Regions from separate parts of the Homo sapiens genome. Here regions 1, 2, 4 and 5 are each linked to region 3. The links are contacts of gene promoters, found by promoter capture Hi-C in blood cells and fetal thymus (Javierre and others, 2016). All regions are on one chromosome and are shown on one strand. Each heading gives the region's core, a stretch centred on a gene start or on the middle of the fragment in contact. The rest is flanking DNA. Distances are from core to core; before and after follow the strand shown.

What was found. The method cuts DNA at HindIII sites, captures the fragments that hold promoters and counts their contacts. A CHiCAGO score of 5 or more calls a contact.
Region 1: a contact is called between a fragment that was not itself captured here and the fragment with the promoter of TTLL11 in region 3, in 1 of 17 cell types (naive CD4 T cells). The highest score is 5.3, in naive CD4 T cells.
Region 2: a fragment that was not itself captured here is called in contact with the fragment with the promoter of TTLL11 in region 3 in 9 of 17 cell types (total CD8 T cells, non-activated CD4 T cells, naive CD8 T cells and 6 more); the score reaches 8.7 in total CD8 T cells.
Region 4: a fragment that was not itself captured here is called in contact with the fragment with the promoter of TTLL11 in region 3 in 1 of 17 cell types (total B cells); the score reaches 5.0 in total B cells.
Region 5: a fragment that was not itself captured here is called in contact with the fragment with the promoter of TTLL11 in region 3 in 1 of 17 cell types (endothelial precursors); the score reaches 6.1 in endothelial precursors.

What each region holds. Positions count from the first base shown.
Region 1 is chr9:122,851,292-122,853,991 of GRCh38, reverse strand. RC3H2 (ring finger and CCCH-type domains 2) reads left to right here. Exons shown (of 21, transcript NM_001100588.3): 18 at 1-40; 19 at 2,556-2,669. Among named protein-coding and RNA genes, the nearest start is that of PDCL, 24 kb to the right of the region's middle. RefSeq lists an enhancer at 1,855-2,630. The HindIII fragment of the contact is 6,549 bases long and covers 1-2,700 here.
Region 2 is chr9:122,834,999-122,837,698 of GRCh38, reverse strand. It overlaps the pseudogene KRT18P67. Among named protein-coding and RNA genes, the nearest start is that of PDCL, 7.8 kb to the right of the region's middle. The HindIII fragment of the contact is 806 bases long and covers 999-1,804 here.
Region 3 is chr9:122,092,008-122,094,707 of GRCh38, reverse strand. TTLL11 (tubulin tyrosine ligase like 11) reads left to right here and starts at 1,400. Exons shown (of 9, transcript NM_001139442.2): 1 at 1,400-2,021. The coding sequence starts at 1,560. It overlaps LOC124902263 (a long non-coding RNA gene), which reads right to left and starts at 576. Exons shown (of 2, transcript XR_007061757.1): 1 at 536-576. RefSeq lists enhancers at 1,220-1,409, 1,159-1,872 and a silencer at 1,760-1,809. The HindIII fragment of the contact is 9,416 bases long and covers 1-2,700 here.
Region 4 is chr9:122,785,942-122,788,641 of GRCh38, reverse strand. No RefSeq gene overlaps it. Among named protein-coding and RNA genes, the nearest start is that of OR5C1, 1.6 kb to the left of the region's middle. The HindIII fragment of the contact is 426 bases long and covers 1,128-1,553 here.
Region 5 is chr9:121,537,624-121,540,323 of GRCh38, reverse strand. All of the region lies in intron 1 of LOC107987016 (a long non-coding RNA gene), which reads left to right. Among named protein-coding and RNA genes, the nearest start is that of GGTA1, 39 kb to the right of the region's middle. The HindIII fragment of the contact is 2,907 bases long and covers 1-2,700 here.

The DNA of each region.
Region 1 (2,700 bases), core at 102-2,601, 760 kb before region 3:
AAACCTTTTAAGCAAGGAAATTGAACTAAGAAATGGAGAGGTAAAGAAACTGAACCTTTCGGCTTCATGCTTAATGTATTTGTTTTCTGCTGCTGCATCTTGGTTATACCATTACTGAGTGCATTTTGGTGTGCCTATCTCTGATGGATGATTGATTGCTTTTAAAACTTATAACAGAAATAAAATTGTAATCCCAGATTTCTTAAATAATTCTTTAACTAGATCATCGGGATTTTTGTTTTTTTGAGATGGAATCTTGCTCTATCGCCTGGAGTGCAATGGCACGATCTTGGCTCACTGCAGCCTCTGGCTCTCAGGTTCAAGCGATTCTCCTGCCTCAGCTTCCCGAGTAGCTGGGATTACAGGCACCCACCACCATGCCCAGCTAATTTTTGTGTTTTTAGTAGAGACAGGGTTTCACCATGTTGGCTAAGCTGGTCTTGAACTCCTGACCTCAAGTGATCTGCTCGCCTCACCTTCCCAAAGTGCTAGGATTACAGGTGTGAGCCCCCGTGCCTGGCTGATCATTGGGATTTTTTACTTTAATTTAAAAGGGAAACCCCAGGTTCCACAGGTATAAAATCAGTATTTTTCTTTTTTTTTTTTTTTTTTTATTGATCATTCTTGGGTGTTTCTCACAGAGGGGGATTTGGCAGGGTCATAGGACAATAGTGGAGGGAAGGTCAGCAGATAAACAAGTGAACAAAGGTCTCTGGTTTTCCTAGGCAGAGGACCCTGCGGCCTTCCGCAGCGTTTGTGTCCCTGGGTACTTGAGATTAGGGAGTGGTGATGACTCTTAATGAGCATGCTGCCTTCAAGCATCTGTTTAACAAAGCACATCTTGCACCGCCCTTAAGCCATTTAACTCTGAGTGGACACAGCACATGTTTCAGAGAGCACAGGGTTGGAGGTAAGGTCACAGATCAACAGGATCCCAAGGCAGAAGAATTTTTCTTAGTACAGAACAAAATGAAAAGTCTCCCATGTCTACTTCTTTCTACACAGACACGGCTACCATCCGATTTCTCAATCTTTTCCCCACCTTTCCCCCCTTTCTATTCCACAAAACCGCCATTGTCATCATGGCCCGTTCTCAATGAGCTGTTGGGCACACCTCCCAGACGGGGTGGTGGCTGGGCAGAGGGGCTCCTCACTTCCCAGTAGGGGCGGCCGGGCAGAGGCGCCCCTCACCTCCCGGATGGGGCGGCTGGCCAGGCGGGGGGCTGACCCCCCCACCTCCCTCCCGGACGGGGCGGCTGGCCGGGCAGAGGGGCTCCTCACTTCCCAGTAGGGGCGGCAGGGCAGAGGCGCCCCTCACCTCCCGGACAGGGCGGCTGGCCGGGTTGGGAGCTGACCCCTCCACCTCCCTCCCGGTCAGGGCGGCTGGCCGGGCCGGGGGCTGACCCCCACACCTCCCTCCCGGACGGGGCGGCTGGCCGGGCGGGGGGCTGACCCCCCCACCTCCCTCCCGGACGGGGCGGCTGGCTAGGCAGAGGGGCTCCTCACTTCCCAGTAGGGGCGGCCGGGCAGAGGCGCCCCTCACCTCCCGGACGGGGCGGCTGGCCAGGCGGGGGGCTGACCCCCCCACCTCCCTCCCGGACGGGGCGGCTGCCGGGCGGAGACGCTCCTCACTTCCCAGACGGGGTGGCTGCCAGGCAGAGAGGCTCCTCACTTCTCAGACGGGGCGGCTGCCGGGCGGAGAGGCTCCTCACTTCTCATACGGGGCGGCTGCCGGGCGGAGGGTCTCCTCACTTCTCAGACGGGGCGGCCGGGCAGAGACGCTCCTCACCTCCCAGACGGGGTGGCGGCCGGGCAGAGGCATTCCTCACATCCCAGACAGGGCGGCGGGGCAGAGGCGCTCCCCACATCCCAGACGACGGGCGGCCGGGCAGAGACGCTCCTCACTTCCTAGATGTGATGGCGGCCGGGAAGAGGCGCTCCTCACTTCCCAGATGGGATGGCGGCCGGGCAGAGACGGTCCTCACTTTCCAGACTGGGCAGCCAGGCAGAGGGGCTCCTCACATCCCAGACGATGGGCGGCCAGGCAGAGACGCTCCTCACTTCCCAGACGGGGTGGCGGCCGGGCAGAGGCTGCAATCTCGGCTTTTTGGGAGGCCAAGGCAGGCGGCTGGGAGGTGGAGGTTGTAGCGAGCCGAGATCACGCCACTGCACTCCAGCCTGGGCGCCATTGAGCACTGAGTGAACCAGACTCCGTCTGCAATCCCGGCACCTCGGGAGGCCGAGGCTGGCAGATCACTCGTGGTTAGGAGCTGGAGACCAGCCCGGCCATCACAGCGAAACCCCGTCTCCACCAAAAAAATACGAAAACCAGTCAGGCGTGGCGGCGCGCGCCTGCAATTGCAGGCACTCTGCAGGCTGAGGCAGGAGAATCAGGCAGGGAGGTTGCAGTGAGCCGAGATGGCAGCAGTATAGTCCAGCTTCGGCTCGGCATGAGAGGGAGACCATGGAAAGAGAGGGAGAGGGAGACCATGGGGAGAGGGAGACCATGGGGAGAGGGAGAGGGAGAGGGAGAGCAAAATCAGTATTTTTCTTAGTTACAGAGTGATTATACAGAAGATGCAACAGATACTAAACCTGATAGGGATATCGAGTTAGAGCTTTCAGCACTTGATACTGATGAACCTGATGGACAAAGTGAACCAATTGAAGTAAGTGCCACAATTAGATAATTGAGAGGCT
Region 2 (2,700 bases), core at 152-2,651, 740 kb before region 3:
GAAGCGGGACATGGAGATCCAGAAACCAGAGCTCCCGCCACCAGCTGGCCTCTCTCCTGACCGGCCAGGCACCGTAGCTGGGCGGCTGGACGGAGCCCAGGGACTGGTAGTTGGTGGAGAAGGTGGAGCGAGTGGTGAAGCTCATGCTGTCTGGAGAGGAGAGAGAGAGGACAGGAGTCAGGCTTTGCTGACCGTATGTGTGTTTTAGACAGGGTCTCACTCTGTTGCCCAGAGCAGTGGCGCAATCATGGCTCACTGCAGCCTTGACCTCTGGGGCTAAAGTGATTCTCCCACCTCAGCCTCCTGAGTAGCTGGGACTACAGGTGCACACCACCATGCCTGGCTAATTTTGTTTTTTTAATTTTCTGTAGAGACAGGTTTCACGATGTTGCCCAGTCTCAAGGATTATTTTGGAATTGTAAGATTTAATATCTGCCCTGCTGAGTTTCAGACTTGCATAGGGCCTGTAGCCCCTTTATTTCGGTCAGTTTCTCCCTTTTGGAATGGGAATGTTTACCCAATGCCTGTACTACCGTTGTTTATTGGAAGTAAATAACTGGTTTTGATTTTACAGGTTCATAGGTGAAAGAAAGTGAGTCTCAGAGAAGACTTAGGACTTTTGATTTGATGTTGGAATGAGTTAAGACTTTGGGGGATTAACGAGAAGGGATTATTGTATTTTGCAACGTGAGGAGGACATGAGATGTGGGGGATGGGTGCCAGGGGAGGAATGATATGATTTGGATATTTGTCCCCTCCAAATCTCATGTTGAAATGTGACCTCGTGTTGGACGTGGGGCCTAGTGGGACGTATTGGATCATGGGGATGGATCCCTCATAAATGGCTTAGTGCCATCCCCTTGGTGATGAGTTCTTGCTCAGTTCATGCTAGATCTGGTTGTTTAAAAGAGGGTGACACCTCCCCTACCCCCACCTTGCTTCTGCTCTCACCACGTGATATGCTGGCGCCTCTTTGCTTTCTGTCATGATTGTAAGCTTCCTCAGGCCCTCACCAGGAGCTAAGCAGCTATTGGTGCCATGCCTGTACAACCTGCGGAACTGTGAGCCAAATTAAACCTCTTTTCTTTATCAGTATCGGTATTTCTTTATGTAGAAATACCAGTCTCAGGTTTTTTTTTTTTTGTTTTTTGTTTTTCTTTTTTTTGAGACAGTCTTGCTCTGTTGCCAGGCTGGAGTACAGTGGCGTTATCTTGGCTCACTGCAACCTCCGCCTCCCGGGTTCAAGCGATTCTTACGCGTTAGCCTCCTGAGTAGCTGGGACTATAGGCGCCCACCACCATGCCCAGCTAATTTTTGTATTTTTAGTAGAGACGGGGTTTCACCATGTTGGCCAGGATGGCCTCAATCTCCTGACCTCGTGATCCACCCCCCTCGGCCTCCCAAAGTGCTGGGATTACAGGCGTGAGCCACCGCGCCCGGCCATCTCAGTTATTTCTTTATAGCATCACAAGAAAGGACTAATACAGCTACTGTTAGTTTCTGGCCACATGAGCTTCTCTGTAGTGCAGCTCACAATATGGTAGAGTGGCTCATCCAAGCAGCAAGCAATACAGGCAACAGAGAGTGAGAGAGAGAGAGTGTGTGCTAAAAAGACGTCACAGTCTTTTATAACCAAATTTTGGAAGCAACATCCCATTACTTTTGTGGTATTCTAATCCTTAGAAGCAAGGGAAAGGGATTACACAGGGCATGAATACCAAGAGGCGGGGAACTTTGGGAGTAGTATCAGTCTGTGTCCAATCAGGAGGTAGAAACTACACAGTACGTTATATGGGGTAAAGCTTAATATAAAGAATCATTAAATGCTAATAAATGACTACCAGCTAAAAGTAAATTCCACATAGTACTCTATAGGTTAGGGAGAGTACCTAAGGAAACACAAACTTGGAAAGGGGTCCACTTCTCAAGGCTGAGGGTCACACCTCGGAGAAGGTATAGTTCAGCCCAGAGGTCCGCTAGTTGGCCCAGGCTGGAACTAGTCACTGGCAGACAGAAAGCTACTCTCCAGGCAGCAGGAGAGGTACACAGGAGCCTGCAGAGAGAGTTGGCTGGTGGGGGACAGGAAACTGGTAGGCGACAGGAAGGAAGCCTTCAGAAAGCTAATTTTCGCATTGAGAGGGCCACAGGAAAATTGTTGCTGGTCTAGACTGAGGTTGCAATGTCACCAAGGGACCATATGTGCTGGACACATGGCTGGGAAAGAGCTCCCCTGGATGTCATTACATCCACATCACTGACCTACCACGAAACTGTGGGAAACAGTAGGAGAGCCCCTCCTCCTGCAATGCCCCTCCAGTGCCCTCTACTGAGAAAGCTCATCACTGTGCTCACTGCAAAGGAGAAATGCTTCACTGAATTCTATCCATTATTGAAGAGCATATATTCAAGGGCGAATTGGGAGCAGAGGGGCAATAAATTGATCATTAGCCTAGGAGCGATTTTAGAAGCTGCCTGCCATAGCCCTATAACTACCAAAGAAATTGAATTAATTATGAAAAACCTTCCCACAAAGAAAACTCCAGGCCCAGATCGCTTCACAGGTTTATTCTATTATTAATAAATATTTAAGGAGAAATAATGCCAATTTTACAGAAGCTACTTCAGAAAGTGGAAGAGGGAACTTACAACTAGTTTTATTAGATAAACATAACCACACAGTACATTACAAAAAAAGAAAAT
Region 3 (2,700 bases), core at 151-2,650:
TTCCGGAGACCCATAGTGGTGCTGGTTGCACAACAATGTGAGTATACAGAATGCCACTGAATTGTACACTAAAAATGGTTAAAATGGCAAATTTTGTTATATTTTACCACAACAAAAAAAGTGATATAAGTAAAAGCAGTCAGGCTGGACGTGGTGGCTCACGCTTGTAATCTCAGCACTTTGGGAGGCTGAGGCGGGTGGATCATCTGAGGTCGGGAGTTAGAGACCAGCCTGGCCAAGATGGTGAAACCCCGTCTATACTAAAAATACAAAAAATTAGCCGGGCATGGTGGCCGGCTCCTGCAATCCCAGCTACTCACAAGGCTGAGGCAGGAGAATTGCTTGAAGCCGGGAGGCGGAGGCTGCAATGAGCCGAGATCACACCATTGCATCCCAGCCTGGGCGACAAGAGCGAAACTCTGTAACAACATCAACAACAACAACAAAACAAAAACAAAAACAAAAAAGAAAACAAGAGACGCGGTGGTTCTGCTTGTAATCCTAGTACTTTGGGAGGCCGAGGCTGGCAGATTACCTGAGGTCAGGAGTTTGAGAACAGCCTCGGCAACATGGCGAAACCACGTTTCTACGAGAAACACAAAACTTAGCCGGGAGTGGTGGTACATTCGTGTAGTCTCAGCTACTCGGGAGGTTGGGGTGGGAGGATCCCTTGAGCTCTGGAAGTTGAGGCTGCTGCAGTGAGCCGGGATCGCGCCACTGCACTCCAGCCTGGGCGACAGAGAGAGACCCTGTCTAAAAAAAAAAAAAAAAAAGAAAAAAAGAAAAGAAAAAGAAAAAATCGTTAATATCCTCAACTCGAGTGGGAATCTATAGGGGGCTTACCCATGCCCATGACTTCCCCATCCCATCGGGAGCTCCCTGAGAACAGGGAAAAGTGCCTCCCCTCTTATCTGGGGGCGCTCAAAGGACCAGCAGAGGGTTTCTTCAGCGGAACACTCTCTGCTCCCCTAGGGCCTGGGCTGCTCACATCCATCGCACTGAGGAGGGTCCCATCCATTGCACTGAGGAGGGTCCCATCCATTGCACTGAGGAGGGTCCCACTGGGGGGCTCCTCCTCCGTCCTATCGAGAGTTATCCCAGCGAGTGTTGGCGGGGACTGAGCCTCCTGCTTGAGGTAGTTGTTTTTACTCCCAGTCCCCAGGCTCACGAGCCCCACGCGCGCTCAATCTGCCCTCCCGCTTCTCCTCGCCACTCCGAGTTCTGCGCCCTCGAGATCCAGCGCATCCGCGGGGTGGGCGGGTCCTGGCGGCTCTTTGCCCTCTTCCAACATGGCCGCCGCTGCCTCTGTGACAGGCAGGGTCACGTGGGCAGCCTCGCCTATGAGGTCGCTGGGGCTCGGCCGGCGATTGTCCCTTCCCGGACCCCGTCTCGATGCGGTGACTGCCGCTGTCAACCCGAGCCTGAGCGATCATGGCAACGGGCTCGGGCGGGGAACGCGTGGCAGCGGCTGCAGCGGCGGCAGTTTGGTGGCGGACTGGGGCGGCGGAGCGGCGGCGGCGGCGGCGGTGGCACTGGCACTGGCCCCGGCCCTGAGCACCATGCGGCGGGGCAGCTCCGAGAGCGAGCTGGCGGCCCGGTGGGAGGCGGAGGCGGTGGCTGCGGCCAAAGCGGCGGCCAAAGCTGAGGCCGAGGCCACAGCGGAGACGGTGGCGGAACAGGTCCGCGTGGACGCGGGCGCGGCCGGGGAACCGGAGTGCAAGGCAGGGGAGGAGCAGCCCAAGGTCCTGGCCCCGGCCCCGGCGCAGCCCAGTGCGGCTGAGGAGGGGAACACCCAGGTCCTTCAGCGGCCGCCGCCCACGCTGCCCCCGTCCAAGCCGAAGCCGGTGCAGGGCCTCTGCCCGCACGGGAAGCCCCGGGACAAGGGCCGAAGCTGCAAGCGGAGCTCGGGCCACGGTTCCGGCGAGAACGGCTCCCAGCGGCCGGTCACCGTGGACAGCTCCAAGGCCAGGACCTCCCTGGATGCCCTGAAGATCAGCATCCGCCAGCTCAAGTGGAAGGAGGTGAGGCCCGGCCCGACCCGGCCGCGTGGGCACAGTGGGGTGGACAGGACGACCTCAGAGGTCTCGGCACGGCCCAGGTCAGGTCGGCGGGCGAGGGCTGAGCTCCTGCGGTGCACCACGCTCGGGCCTGCTTGTCAGCCGCAAAGTGCTCATCCTTCAAGGCCTACCCCCCAAAATCACTTCCTCCAAGAGGGCCCCCCAGACCCCTCCAGGTCAAGTTAGCCACTCACTCCTCTGCCTCCCTGCAGCTCTTTTTATGTCTCAGCCATCAGCATTTGCCTCTGCTTGTAGATATGTGTACGTCTGTCTCCTCCACCAGCTTGTAAGCCCCTGGGGCCCCGGACCCGCTCTCTCACTTCTTCATTGAAGTTATATTTGTTTAGCACTTGCTGTGTGACTCTTGGGCAGAGGAACACTTTTTATTTTGGAGGCAGACAGGCCTAGGGTCTCACTACACTTTGCTACTTAGCTGTGTGACCTTGAGTAAGTTGCTTCACCTCTTCAGCCTATTACCTTCTCTGTAAAGTGAGGCCAATTATACTTATCTCATCATCTTGTTAGCATTAGAAGACTCACTACTTAGTGTTTTATAGCACAAGTCTGCAATAAATGGTAACTTACGTTACCACCTTCTCCTTTCTCTCTTCTTCCACCATCATCACCATCACCACCACCAGCA
Region 4 (2,700 bases), core at 91-2,590, 690 kb before region 3:
CCTTCTGGGTTCAAGCGATTCTCCTGCCTCAGCCTCCCAAGTAGCTGGGATTATAGGCATGTGCCACCGTGCCTGGCTAATTTTATATTTTTAGTAGAGATGGAGTTTCTCCATGTTGGTCAGGCTGGTCTCGAACTCCCAACTTCAGGTGATCCGCCCACCTCAGCCTCCTGAAGTGCTGGGATTACAGGCATGAGCCACTGTACCCGGCCCGTCTTTTTTTCTTTTTTCTTTTCTTTTCTTTTCTTTTTTTTGAGATGGAGTCTTGTTTTGTTGCCCAGGCTGGCGTGCAGTGGTGCAATCTTGGGTCACTGCAACCTCCGCCTCCTGGGTTCAAGTGACTCTCCTACCTCAGCCTCCCGAGTAGCTGGGACTACAGGTGCCCGCCACCATGCCCGGCTAATTTTTGTATTTTTTAAGTAGAGGTAGGGTTTCACCATGTTGGTGGTCAGGCTGGTCTTCAACTCCTGATCTCAAGTCTGCCTGCCCCAGCTTCCCAAAGTGTTGGGATTACAGGTGTGAGCCACCACGCCCAGCCTTTTTTTTTTTTTTTTTAAAGAGACACAAGGTCTCACTATGTTGCCCAGGCTGAACTAAAATTCTTGGGCTTAAGTGATCCTCCTCCCACCTCAGCCTCCCAAGCAGCTGGGATTATAGGCATGCTCCACCACACCCACAGGGGTCTTGTCCCTCTTATTCACTTTTGTGTCTACAGCACTGAGAGCATTGCCTAGCACATAGCTGGTGCTCAAAAAAGATTTGTTAAATGAATGAATGGGATGATATTTAGTGTCCAGCCAATGATTGAAAACTTTGTGACTCTATATGCATTCTCCTCTCCAGTTTTCCAGGTAAGAAAAGAGACAGTGGAATGAGCAGAAATAATCTTCAGATCCAACGGGCACCTGGCCATGGCTTTTGAGGTTTGCTAGTAGGGACATCTTTCCTTTGGAGTAAGATCGGAGAAAGGAGTAGCCTGGTATCTTGCGAAAACAGTGGGGAGTAGAAAGAACAGAAAATGTGAATATATTCCTGAGCTGAATTCTTGGCCTCTCTGAGCCTCAATGTTCTCATCTGGATAATGGGGGAAAGCTGCAAGGATTCGATGAGATAATGCATGTAAAGCTTCTCACACAGGGCCTAGCACACGCAGGCATTTAACAAAGGCCCTGCGAATGGAAATAAATTGAACTGGATGCTCTGGCTCCAAACTGGAAGGAAGCAACTTTATGGCAATCAAAAGTAGTATAATTCCCAGAAAATGCAATGTTGCTTCACACTCCTGTGCCTTGCATTTGTCCTCTTTGCCTGGAACCCATTTCCTCCTTTTGTGTTTGGTAAAAAGTTTCTCCAGTGTGAAGCCTTCCCTGATCTGTCCCTTAAAACTAAACATTTTTCTTGTCTGTGGCCTGCTGCACTGGAGCATACAGTAGTTCCCCCTTATCTATGGGGAATACGTTCCAAGACCCCCTGTGGATGTGTGAAATCACAGATCGTACTGAACCCTATATATGTGATTTTTTTCCCTATACATTCATATCCATGATAAAGCTTAATTTATAAATTAGGCATAGTAAGGGATAACAACAACAATAATAACATAGAACAATTATAACAATGTACTATAATACAAGTTAGGTGAATATGGTCTCTCTCTCTGTCCCTCAAAATATCTTACTTTTATATATATATATATATATATATATTTTTTTTTTTTTTGTTTTGTTTTGTTTTGTTTTGTTTTGTTTTTGTTTTTTTTTTTTTTGAGATGGAGTCTCACTCTGTCACCCAGGCTGGAGTGCAGTGGTGTGATCTCGGCTCACTGCAACCTCCACCTCCTAGGTCCAAGTGATTCTCCTGCCTCAGCCTCCTGAGTGGCTGGGACTACAGGTGTGTGCTACCATGCCCAGCTAATTTTTTTGTATTTTTAGTAGAGATGGGGTTTCACCACATTGGCCAGGTTGGTCTCGAACTCCTGACCTCAGGTGATTCGTCTGTCTCGGCTTCCCAAAGTGTTGGGATTACAGGTGTGAGCCACTGCACCCAGCCTGTTTTTAATAGTTTCGGGTCACAGTTGACTGCAGGTAACTGAAACTGCAGAAAGCAAAACTGTGGGTAAAGGGGAACAACTGCTGTACCTCTCTCATGCTGCTTCACCATTCTATTGCAAATATCTTTTACATGTGTGTCTCCTGTGAACTTTGAGCTCCTTGATTCAATATTCATTCAACAAAGTTTTATTGAGCATTACTGTGTGCTAAGAATGCCCCATAATTCATTTTTGTATCTCCAGGGTGAGGTATATAATCAGAGCTCAAAAAATGTTAGTTGAGTCCATAACACAGTGAACAAGAGTACAGACATTAGCAGCATGAACACTTGCTTTTGAGTCCTAGTTCCACAACTTTCTGGTGTGTAACTTCAGGCAAGTCACTTCACCTCCCTTAACTTTGGTTTTCTCCTTGCAAAGTAGGAATCATAATATCTCTGTGGAGGTTTTTAAGAGGCAATAGGTGTGCAGGAAGGGGCCCGGAGCTGAATAAATTCTTCTTCCCCTCCTTTTAAGAGAAGTTTAGATGTTTGGGACTTACCTGTGCCCAGTGAGGATGGTGAAAATCTCCTACAAAGCACAAATTGGATGAAAAATTTTGACAATATCACGTTGGTGAGGTTGTGCTTGTGGAAATGTAAACTGGGACA
Region 5 (2,700 bases), core at 154-2,653, 550 kb after region 3:
AGCAAAAGAACATCATGCCACATGGCCCAAAAGTTACAAGCTCAACCAATAGAAATATCCTTCATGTTTCACTCCTTCAGAATCATATTCCCTTTGTCTTCCAAAAGAATACTTTCTTTTCAAATGTGTATCTGAATCTTTTTTCACACAAATACTTTATTTTGTTTACTGAAACTCTCTCTGTTTGTTTTGTTTTGTGTTTTGAGACAAGCTCTCACTCCGTTGCCCAGGCTGGAATGCAGTGGCCTGGTCACAGGTCACTGCAGCCTTGACTTCCCAGGTTCAAGTGATCCTCCCGCCTCAGCCTCCCAAGTCGCTGGGACTACAGGCACACACCATTGCACCCAGCTAACTTTTTAAATTTTTGTAGAGACAAGGTCTCACTATGTTGCCCAGGCTGGTCTCAAATTCCTGGGCTCAGGTGATCCTCCTGCCTCAGCCTCCCAAAGTGCTGGGATTATCGGCATGAGCCACTGCGCCTGGCCTCTCCTTGTTTTCAAGATGCATATCTGAATTATTTTTCAAATCTGTGTTACAAGGGTCTCCCTCCCCTGTACATCTCAACATGAGCTCCAGAAGGAGGTGGTGAGTGTATGTATGTGTGTGCGTGTGTGTGTGTGAAATCATTTATAAAGAGAACGTGTAAAACTGATAGGCTGAGAACGAACATGAGTTGTCACCCAGCCATGGCTGGTGGATGTTCCCCGCATTCCTTTGTGCCCAAGTAGACCATAAAAGCCATCTTCAAAATTACCTGAGTTGGCCAGGATTACAGGTGGCTCACACCTATAATCCCAGCTCTTTGGGAGGCTGGGGTGGGAGGACAGCTTGAGGCCAGGAATTTGAGACCAGCCTGGGCAACACAGTGAGACCCTTCTCTTTATAAAATAAAATTAAGAAGTTAGAAAAAAAAAATCCTGGCCGGGCATGGTGGCTCATGCCTGTAATCCCAGCACTTTGGGAGGTCGAGGTGGGTGGATCACCTGAGGTCAGGAGTTCGAGACCAGCCTGGCCAACACGGTGAAACCCCGTCTCTACTAAAAATACAAAAATTAGCTGGGCGTGGTGGTGTGCACCTGTAATCCCAGCTACTCGGGAGGCTGAGGCAGGAGAATCGCTTGAACCTGGGAGGTGGAGGTTGCAGTGAGCAGAGATCAGGCCACTGCACTCCAGCCGGGGTGACAGAGTGAGACTCCATCTCAAAAAAAAAAAAAAAAAATCCTGAGTCTGTGGTCTGTTTCCCCCACAGTAGATCCTTATGTTCTGCACTTTAGCTTTGTTCCTGGATCCTCTGTGCTCCCACCCTTGTGCTACTTTCTTGTTTTCCCCCTACTCTTTTTTTCTGCTCTGGTTGTGTATCACGCATCCTTGGAAGCTGCCTGAGGTCCTCTCTGCAGCAAGGCAGGGAGCAAACCAACCAATCAACCAACCAATCAGACAATGTACAACTGGATTGCTGGGCCCTCTGGCCTGGGTCAGAGAGGCTGAAGCCACGACCGGGTCCTCGTCTTTTTTTCCTTTATTCTTTTTTTTGAGACAGAGTCTTGCTCTGTCACCCAAGCTGGAGTGCAATGGCACAATCTTGGCTCACTGCAAACTCCGCTTCCCGGGTTCAAGTGATTCTCCTTCCTCAGCCTGCCGAATAGCTGGGATTATAGGCATGTGCCATCATGCCTGGCTAATTTTTGCATTTTTTGTAGAGACAGGGTTTCACCATGTTGGCCAGGCTGGTCTCAAACTCCCGACCTCAGGTGATCCGCTCCCCTCGGCCTGCCAAAGTTCTGGGATTACAGATGTGAGCCACTGTGCCTGGCCAGGTCCTCATCTTTCTAGTACCAGCCAGAAGGTGGCATTAGAGCAGCTCCCAAATGTCATGCAAGTGTCAGAGCCAGGGCAACCTCAGGTATGGATGGGATAGTGGTTGCAGATGGGCCTTGAGGACTATAGAGGGAGGCGAGCAGGGCAGAAGAGAGCTGAGGAACAGCAGCAGTCTGCAGGCTGACACCATCCTCAGGCCTCCGGGGCAAATTAATGTCAGACAGGCCTTCTAGGTCAATGTCAGGAGCGAGAGAGAGAAAAGATGGAATGTGCTCAGTGCCGGACATGGAGGTGCTCAGGAAATGTTGGAACTCTCCTTCCCCATGTTTTCCTGGAGGATTGGATGGCTTTGCCCTTTAAAAGGCCAGTATCAGGCCAGGTGTGGTGGCTCACAACTGTAATCCCAGCACTTTGGGAGGCCGAGGCGGGCGGATCACCCGAGGTCAGGAGTTTGAGACTACCCTGACTAACATGGAGAAACCCTGTCTCTACTAAAAATACAAAATTAGCTGGACATGGTGGCGCATGCCTGTAATCCCAGCTACTCAGGAGGCTGAGGCAGGAGAATTGCTTGAACCCGGGAGGCGGAGGTTGCAGTGAGCCGAGATGGCACCATTGCACTCCAGCCTGGGCAACAAGAGCGAAACTCCATCTCAAAAAAAATGAGATAAAATAAAATAAAAGCCAGTGCCTGGAGCCCAACCCAGGTCCGGTCCATGCTGTTACCACCATATTTCTCCCTTGGCATCGTGAGCCCACCCTCTGCAGGACCGACCCCTGAGAGACAAGGCCAGTCCTTTTCTCTTGCAGCTGCTTGTTCTGTGGTGAGATTCAGTGGGTGGGAAGAGATGGTAGGAATAGCTGCAGCTTGTCCCACTTTTC